Regions from separate parts of the Homo sapiens genome. Here region 2 is linked to region 1. The links are contacts of gene promoters, found by promoter capture Hi-C in blood cells and fetal thymus (Javierre and others, 2016). All regions are on one chromosome and are shown on one strand. The core of a region is centred on a gene start or on the middle of the fragment in contact, and the rest is flanking DNA. Distances in the headings are between cores, read along the strand shown.

Evidence for each region. Contacts are between HindIII fragments. The CHiCAGO score rates a contact against its expected background, and 5 or more counts as called.
Region 2: a contact is called between a fragment that was not itself captured here and the fragment with the promoter of CD53 in region 1, in 1 of 17 cell types (total CD8 T cells). The highest score is 5.6, in total CD8 T cells.

What each region holds. Positions count from the first base shown.
Region 1 is chr1:110,870,792-110,875,498 of GRCh38, reverse strand. CD53 (CD53 molecule) reads right to left here and starts at 2,351. Exons shown (of 8, transcript NM_000560.4): 1 at 2,251-2,351. It also overlaps a transcript of LRIF1 not described here. RefSeq lists enhancers at 829-878, 2,391-2,500, 3,101-3,150. The HindIII fragment of the contact is 4,495 bases long and covers 1-2,493 here.
Region 2 is chr1:110,614,818-110,619,524 of GRCh38, reverse strand. It overlaps a transcript of KCNA2 not described here. Among named protein-coding and RNA genes, the nearest start is that of KCNA2, 11 kb to the right of the region's middle. The HindIII fragment of the contact is 373 bases long and covers 2,475-2,847 here.

The DNA.
Region 1 (4,707 bases), core at 1,102-3,601:
AAAACAATGGCTGTAACCTCACAAGAAGCTCCACCCTTCCTTCTGCTCTAAGTGAAAATCTAGGTTGAGGAGGCAAAAACCTGCCTCTTCTCCCTCATTTCAAACCCACATCCCATCAATTCTGTCGTGTGAACATGGTGGGCATAGCCCCACCCAGAGCTGGACCTAGGACCTGCCTGGTGAGCGATCTTGCCCTCCACTTTCTGGTGCCAAGTAGGAGAAAGGGCTTTCCACTTCATGTGGCTCTGTAAACATGGTGTGTTACACTGCAGTCTCACTTGCTTTCTCTCATTTCTAACATGCCTGGAGGTACACACTTCTTTGAATTTGAATATACAGCACCCTTGGTCTAGAATGTCTCCATAGCAAACCCATACTTCTGTGAAAGTGAACCCACCAGTCACCTCTCTAGGCAGTTTTTGGCACACTCCTAACTCCTACAGTTTGTGCACGTTCTCCATCTATTATAGAAAAGAGCACATTGCACTGTATTTGTATATTGCTGTGACTGTCATCCATAATAAACTCTACAACTCCTTTCAGATGATAATCTTTTCTGTTATCCTGTATCTCCAGCACCAAGTGCCATATCTGGCCATGGGGTAGGAGTGGGAAAGGAGAACCAGAGTCCGAGGGCCTCTGTGCAGTCAGAGGTCAATCAGAGGGCACAAAAAACCAAGGACCAACAGACTTTGTCCTTTCCAGTTTGTGCCTCTTGTCAGTGAACAAAGGTGAGGTCACTTAGGTGGTGGTAACCATAGCTGTGAAGGCATGAACTTGGAATCATTCCTCATGAATATAAAGGTACCCAATCCTTTCATTTAAAAATTAAGTGTTCTTAACTGGCCCACACAGGAAACATCACAGGAAATAATGTTTCAGTTCAGTCTTTGCTCCCATTCAACCACAATTTCAAAATAGTACAGATTCTCCTCAAGATTGAGAAAGCAAAACCTCTTTGTTTGTCCAGCAGCTGGGAGTTTGCTTTTTCTCAGCTTTCTTCCAAAGCACACGCATAGTATGATATCTCTTATCTCCCATGGGAGTTCCTTAAGAGTAGGACTGTTTGCTAGACAAATATTCTCCTTCTACCTTTTCATCTCCCTCCCCCACAATTCCCAAAGCACAGTGCCTGGCCTCAGGAGGCACCTACCACTTGATTATTAAGTGAATTTATTTAAAAGACTGCTTTTTATTTTTTAATACAAGGCTCAATAAACTCTGAGGTGTTTTGGGAATCCAGAGCCCTCTCCCCGTCCCCACCCCTCTTGGAAATCTAGAGCCCTCTGCCCTGTTCCCAATCCTCATACTTAGATGGGTGGGTGTAATCAAAGAGAACTTTCTCCTTTCTGCTCCAGGGCATAATCAAGTGAAATTCTCACAGGTCTTGGAAGAAGAAAGCTCTTACATAGAGTTTCCGATGGTGGTCACAGAGAGTCAGGACCGAAGCTCTGCTAACACTTTGCTGAGTCCATGCAACCTCAGTCATTAGTTACAGCACATGATTGGAAATTACTGCAGTATCAAGTTTTGGGGATTGCATTTTATACGTGCATTTCATGTGACATTTATCAGTGGTCATGTTTTGTACACCAAGGATAATTTGGGGAAATGCTGAGGATCCCAATGTGCTTCCTGCTCCTTAAAAGCCAACAATCTATGCATCCTTTAGAGATGTCTAGCTTTCACCTTTTAAAATACAGTTACTGAGCACATCCTGGTGTTTTGATTTTTAGCCACCTTTCTATTTAGTGGCTTTGAAGAACCACAGTGGGAGTCACTAAATTTACTTTTGAAATTTTCTCAAATGAAAAAGAACTGTGTCTTCTAGCTGTCTTTCTAAAGACAGCTCTGGCTGTGGGTTCTTTCCTCACTTTAAAATCACAAGACCAATTTTCTGAAGACCAGAGCACATAGGAAATCTCCCCAATGTCATCTCGCATAGAAAGCTCCAGGCATCAGGAATTACTACACAGAGTAATTCAAGCTCTGAAGCAATTAAGGCATGTGAATGCCTCGACTCAGAGATTTAGATAATGGGAACCTGATTAAGTAAAAGTATTTCTGGCCTGATTGCCTTTGGGGATGTTACTAGGATCTTGCTAATCTGTTTTACTTTGTGCACTAAATATTTGTGAAAGAGAAGTTGCCGGAGATTTTATGGTTACTAGAGAGGTATATGGAGACCCCTAAGAATACGCCCTACCCCACATTAGACAGCAAGCCAAGTTAAAACGTCATCAACCTTACCTTTTCCAGGCACCGTTCCTCAGTCCTTTCGGCAGAATTTAGTGATTATCCTTGAGGTGGCCGAGACAAGGCTGGTAACACAGATATCCGGGGCTATTTGTGTAAAAGGAGAAGTGAAGGGTGAAAAAATATGATCATGCTGTGACGACAGGAAGCCCAGATGAGAAGAAGGAGGAAGTGAGGCTGAGTCCGCCCTCTTTAGTCTCAGAGATTTAGTACTTTCCCAGTGGCTTTTTAGAAGCTTCCTCTCACAGCCCACCCTAAACTAGTTTTGTGAAACAAAAGAAAACTTCAAAACCAAGTTGGTTCAGGCACAGATCTGTGAGCAGTGGTGGATTCTAGGGTAATTTGGCAATGATTTTTGCTTAGAAAAGGACAGTGCTTCTCAATCAAGGTGGCATCTCAGAATTAACTGTGTATTTGTTCAAAAAGAAGTATGCCTGGCCCCACCACCAGTTTCCCATTCAGGTAGACAGACTGGAGGGGAACACAGGAACCAATATTTCTAAACATTTTCTAGGCCCGAGACTTTGGAATGTCTTTCTGAAGATTCTCTGCCCCCTCCTCATACTCCCTCTGTCTGGCTTCAGCCAGTCTCTAGACTTGAATTGGACACCATTTGCAGACTTCTCTGTCTCGAGAGCAAGACTGTCTTAAGGTGAGTCCCCAAGGCATAATCCCAGGGGCACTGGTAGAAATGATTTGGTTAGTACAGGAAACACCACATTTGGAGCCAAAGATCTGAGTTTCAGTTCCAGCTTTATCTCTTTTAGCTGTGAGATCTTGAGCAAGTCTCAATCTGTCAGCCTCAGTTTATTAATGGTAACACCTAATAATAATCCTACTGGTTACTGTTACATCCTTATTTATATACAAGAAAACAGGCGCTCAAAGAGGTTAGAAAATTTGCCCAAGCTCATACAACTAAGACATGTCAGAGGTAGGATTAAAATTCAAGGTCACAGAGAAGGCCTTTTGAGAAACACTGTGATCAATATATTTTGAAAAATGTGTTTCTGGTTTCACTATGCTGCATCACTGGAATTTTCTTAGATTGGGTCAAAGGAGTATGTGACAACCCAAATGTATCACTAGCTAACTATGAAACTTGGAAGCAATCACTGGGCCCCAATGTTTTCATCTTATAAATGAACAGATAGATGCACTCTGCGGTGCTGACTTGCGGGCATGCCTCTGGGAAAGCTAGCTGTCTCCCGCTTCCTTCACCCTGAGACATTCAGATCCAGAGTAATCTCCAGCCAGGGCTGTCTTGTGGGGAAAACTGAATTAAATGAAGGTAAAAAGGTCTTTACTGCAGAACTTGTCAGTCCTTAATATTCTCTAAGCAGGGGAAATAATATATAGATTTCTCCAAACTTATCTGAGCATGGAACTGTGTGGTGTGTGTGTGTGTGTGTGTGTGTGTGTGTGTGTAGTTTCTCTTGGGGAACAATTTTTCAGTGTAACTACACTTTAGGGAATGCTATTAAAAAGTCTCTGCACCTCGGCTGGAATCACTGACCCTCACTCAGAGCTGCTGCCATGCTTACAGGTCCCTGAAGTGGTGGGGCTGAGGAGAGGCTTCTGGCTGAACTCATATTTTCCTAATTATCTCACCCATTCTGATGGCTCTAATTACTATCTGTCTGTTCCAAAGATTCACAAATCTATATAGATGCCATGATCTCTCCTTTGAGCTCCACTCTCTCCCAGGCACCTCAAATCCAATATCCAACTTCAGTTTGATTAACTTGGCATCCCCACACTCAAGCCTGCTCCTCCCACCATGTCCACCATCCAGGAAAGGCCTGACTGGCCTTTCAGCCACGTTCATGAGAAACCAGGTGTCCTCTTAAGCTACTCTCTCTCCCACACCACCACCTATTATCAGCCACCAAGTCCTGTCAGTTATGCTTTTGCCTAAATATTTCTCAAACCAGACCACCTCTCTCCAACCCCATAGAAATTACATTAGTCTTTATCTTTTACCTGTGTTACAGGATCCCAGTGTCCTTCAAGACCACCTTGGATGTTTCTTCAGTCTGTCCTCAGGAAGAAGGGAGGAGAGCCTTCTAAAATGCAAATTTAATCACATGACTCCCCAGCTTAAAACTCTCAGCCGGCTATTTCTTCCCCGGCCCCACCCCCAAGATCTCCTCACACTGGGTAACACTGGATATGGAATTCCTTTTAGTTGCTTAAACAAATCAATCTAGTTCTGTCTCACGAGCTCTCTCTAGAATATCCTCTCACCTGTTCACTTAATTCCTTACTCATCCCCCATCATAGCACCAGAAAGCCCTCCAGGCAGGAACAGTTACTCCTGCTCTCTGCTCCCATTGCCCACAGGCATTCCTCCACCCTCTGTCATTCCTTGTTTTTCATTGTTTTCCCCACTAGACTGAAAGCTCTGTAGGTTCTGTGTTACTCTGTGTATGTTGGGTGATCTTGCTCATG
Region 2 (4,707 bases), core at 1,412-3,911, 260 kb after region 1:
GCCCCCTGGCGGCCAGTGGCAGCTCGTGCGTCTGTCTTTTCTGCAGAGCTGATTTCCACCTTGTATGTGTAGGAGGGGCCTCCTTTACAAAGAACCAGCCATACCCTTGGGAGTGGGAGCAGATTTCATAGCCGAGACAGGAGACCTTGTAAGAACTTCCTATGTGCCAGGCACAAGGTTAAAACCGGTATTATCATACATGCATTCATTCGTTTTCCTAGTGTGTGCCAGGCATCTCCTAGGAAGTAATGTGTAAGCAGAGGCCCCATAAAGGAATTACATAAAGTAATGTGTAAGCAGAGCAAGTCATGAGCATGTTTGGGGGTACAGTCTCCCAGGGAGTGGGGACAGCCAGGCCACAGGGATGCATTCTTTGGGTGTGGAGACCAGGAAGGAGGCAGCTGCAGAGGGTGGTTGGAAATGAAGTCAGAAAGGTGTCCAGGGGACAGACGGTACAGAGCCTTCTGGGCCATAGGACTTCAGGCTTAGTTCTGAGAGTAGTGAACAACTACTGGACTTTGAACAAAGGCATAAAACAACTCGATTTATGTTGTTTATAAAATCACTCTGGCTTCTGCGAGGGCATGAATAGGAACAGGGAGGCCTGTGAGGAGCCCAGGTGAGAGTAGAGCATCTGGGGCCAGGTTTGCTTCGCCTGCCGGAAGAGATAAGACATCTGGTTCAGAAGATGGTCTGAAGGCAGAGGCCATAGGAATCCCTGTTGGATTAGCCAAAGGCTGTGTCCCGGGGTTTGGGCCTGAGCAACTGGATGAGGGAGGAGTGGTGCTACTCAGAGGGATGGGGGTTCAGGTGTGGGGGCATGGGAAGGAAGCAAGAATTTGGTTTGGGATGTGCCATGTTTGAGCTGCCAATTAGACTCTAAGTCATGATGTTCGGTGCACCTGAGCAGGGCTCTCTACCCTCTCCATCCTCTCCTTATGTTCCTTTCGTGGCTCTCCTGGGTCTTTTTCCCATCTGAGGGCCACCCAAGCTGCCTCATCCTACCTCCGAAAGGAAAGGAAGCCCACACAGAGCAGCAATTCCACAGGGAAAGAACTGAGGGAAGGCAGCCACATTCCAGGGCCACACCCTAACTGGACGGCAAGGTCAGAGGCAGTCAGGGTTCTAGGCTCCACTCTCCAGAGAGGAATTAAAAGAGGATAAAATGCCTTTTCTCACACACTGACAGGTCACTCACATGTCAGCCAGGAGTGCAGTGGCACGATCATACCTCACTGTAACCTCGAACTCTTGGACTCAAGTGATCCTCCCACCTCAGGCTCCCAAGTAGCTAAGACTACAGGTGGGTGCCATCATGCCCAGATAATTTTTTTAAATTATTTTTTGTAGAGACAGGGTCTCACTATGTTGCACAAGCTGGTTTCAAACTCCTGGCCTCAAGCAATCCTCCTGCTTTGGCCTCCCAAAATGCTGGGATTACAGGCATGAGCCGCCGCACCCAGGCCCTCTCTGCTCTTCTCACTCCATCTACATTCTCATCCTGGGGGATCTCATTCTCACCCTTGGCTTCAATGACCCCTCCATGATGATGACTTTCAACTCTCCATTCCCTACCCTCTACCTCTCTCCTGAGCATCAGGCCAGCATTGCCATCTGCCCTGTTGACAAGGAACAGGCCCATCAGAGCAGCCCCACAAACCCCCATGTATGTCAGAACTGCCCACCATGTGAGCTCCATCCCTCGACACATGCATGAGTGCACACACACAGGTGCACATGCACTTCGCACACCACCTCTCTGAAGCCCTGTGGCGGCCCCTCCACACTCTCTCTCCCTCTCCCATCTCGCTGATCACTGAATCCTACACTCCCTGTAATGTCTCCCTTTTGGTGCTTTTCTCTTCATCACTGCCTTCATCCCTTCTACCGTTCACCTATTGAACAAATGGCCTGAGTCCAGACCCTTGACATCTCTGAGGGGAAGCAACCTCCTCCTTACCAGTTTCCTGCCTCTGCTCTTAGACCCATCCTTTCCACTATACTCCACATTTCCCAAGTTATCTTTCTGAAACATAGATTGGATCCTGTCTCTCCCACTCAGAACTCTCAATGGCTCCCTATCACCTACAGGACAACCTGAACTCCTCAGCATGACTTCAAGGCCTTTCTCAGTCTTCCCCCATCGACCTCTCATTTTACCATGTCCTCCCACACTGCTCGCTCCTGGCACTCCATCTGGCGCAGAGTCCCTGGCACAGGTGAGGCTGCTTCTCTGGTCTGTCCCTGTTGTGCCTTTTTCCTGGAATCCACTCACCCATTTGGGTATTTAGCTCACAAATATGTATTAAGCTCCCAGTGTGCTCCAGGCACTGGGGGTACAGGAGAGAACAAAATCCTCAAAATCCCTCCTCACACAGTGTGAGATAGGCTGTTGCAGAGAGCCCTTCTCCAGGGAGTGAATGAATGAAGCAGGCAGTGAGGCATGCAGATTGCCCATGAAGAATGCCCAAGCTTCACTTCAACACCTCTTTCGGGGTCTTTGGACATTCTGCTCCTCCGTAAAGACATCTCTCAATTTCCATCCTTGGTGAAGGCTTTCCTCTTCTTAGGTGCTTTTGTACTTTATTCTTCAATTTAAGCCAATTCATTCTGCCTTGGGTTAGAGTCAATTGTTGACAATTCTGCTTCCTTATCCATCCTTCTAGGGAAGGAACTAGTATTTATCAAGCACCTCCTCTGTGCCACGCTCTGTGTGTCCCCCACAGTGCTTGGCTCGATGCCTGGTTTAGAGCCGGGGCTAGAGGACAGACCATGACTCAGCTCCTGCCTTTTGCACCCAGCTGCTGGCTATGTGGCTACAGGCAAGCCACTCAGCCTCACCAAGCTTGTTTCTGTAACTGTTGAATGGGAGTGAACATAGCACCTGCCTCTGTTAGGAATTATCCTTCTCACATAGCCTGGAGAGTTTCAGTTAGACCCTGGCTCGGTTGTTCCCAGGCTCTGTTGTTTTTTCCTTAGGAACCATGCTGGCTTATTTATGATCTAACTCTGGGGTCCCATGTTTCTTAAAGAAAGAACTTTTTCTTATTTCCTGAAAGCTCCTGGACTTTGGAAAGGTGCAGCTGGAAGAGAAGGGAAGTGATGCGCAGCCCCCTATGAAGTCACTCCACATTCTGACTTCCACCCTCTACCCCGCTGTCCCACAGAGCTGACCTGACAACTGCCACGGCCCCTGACCCTGACTAGATGAACCTGGGTGGTGGGGGTGGGGGTGGGGCTGCATTGCCAGCCCCTCATCATCTCAGGAAGTGAAGCCTGGGCCAGGGGCTACAGATGCCCCATCTCTCCAGGCTGACTTGGGGATCTGCAGGTTACAGAGTCCCTGATTTAACCCAGCAGATTCTAATGGCCAGAGTTCAGAGAAGAGAGGAATTCCTTTGAGGCATGCAGAACCCTTAAAGCATGGCTCTGCCCAGGTCCAAAGACCCCTGGAGAGCCCTATACCACATCCTCAAGGCAGAAAGAAACTCAGGTCTCTCTTTTTCTGAATTGGTGAGGCTCTTTTCTCCTCCCATCTGGTTTCCACTTCCTTAGGCACGTCCCTGCACCCATGTGGCCATTGGGTGGCACTGTTGGATGAGCCTAGAATTTCAGGTGAACAGCAAGCATCCCAAGACTCCTGGTTGCGAGTGTGAGAGGGACAGGAAACCACAGAGGTTCTCCTCCCCAGGCGCCCCGACCCTCTGTCCCTCCTCCTAGCTGTCGTTTGTGCCCCAGGCTCTCTTCCACTCCTAAGTCATCTTCCCTGTACTCTTCTAGATACACGTTGGTTCTGCAACACCAGGAATGCCAGGATGATTTAGCCACCTCCTCACTTGTCTACCTTTCCCTCCCCTGCTTCAAAGACTTGGGTCGATCGAAGCACCAAAGCATCACTGTTGCTGACACTAACAAGTAGTGCCAAGGGATTGCCTTTAAGGAAGATCAGGAGCGGAACATCTGGTGGCAAAGAAAATCTTTCTAATAGCCCCATTCTAGTGACCACCTTCAACCTCCTCATAGCAGGAGAGTTTGGGAGTAGGGGACTTAGGATGTTTTGTTCTTTTAATCAATTCAGAAAATATGTATGTTTGAAATAAAAATAAAAATACTTGAGCCAGAGAGGCTGAGTCACTCCAGAGCCTCAGATTTGAGTTCCCAGGGCAAGCCCCACTGCCTGTCCACACAAGAGTTTACTCCATTCAACAAACACGTTTTTTTATCCAACTGTTTTCTACCTAGTCTTTCATGCCTCTAATTCTACTTCCTTAGCATTCAGGTAAGGCCCTAGGTAAGTGGTGTGTGGCAGGCGGGCCCTGCTGTGATCTTACAGGTCGCCTTTGGGTGCCTTAGGCCATGAAACTTCCAGTAGGGCCAGTCATTTTCCTCAGGTTGAACTTCAGGAAACTCCTCACTGCAATTTCAGCCCCTTTCTGCAAGGCCTCAGAGTCAAAGATTCCCTGTGTTCCCTTTGTAATGACCCTTCTTGGACTCAGAGAACATCATTAAGATGCACTGAGCATCAGGTTTGCACTGTTTGGAATGTTTGCAGGATTCGTTTTCAAAATGATTTGGCATCTTTGAAAGTCCTTTCTCCCTTTTAAACAGGCAGTGACATGTGTTGGGGTAACGGTTGATGTGGGGATCAGCAAAGTCTGGGCTGGAATCCCAGCTCTGCCACTTACTAGAGCCATGCAACCTTGAGCA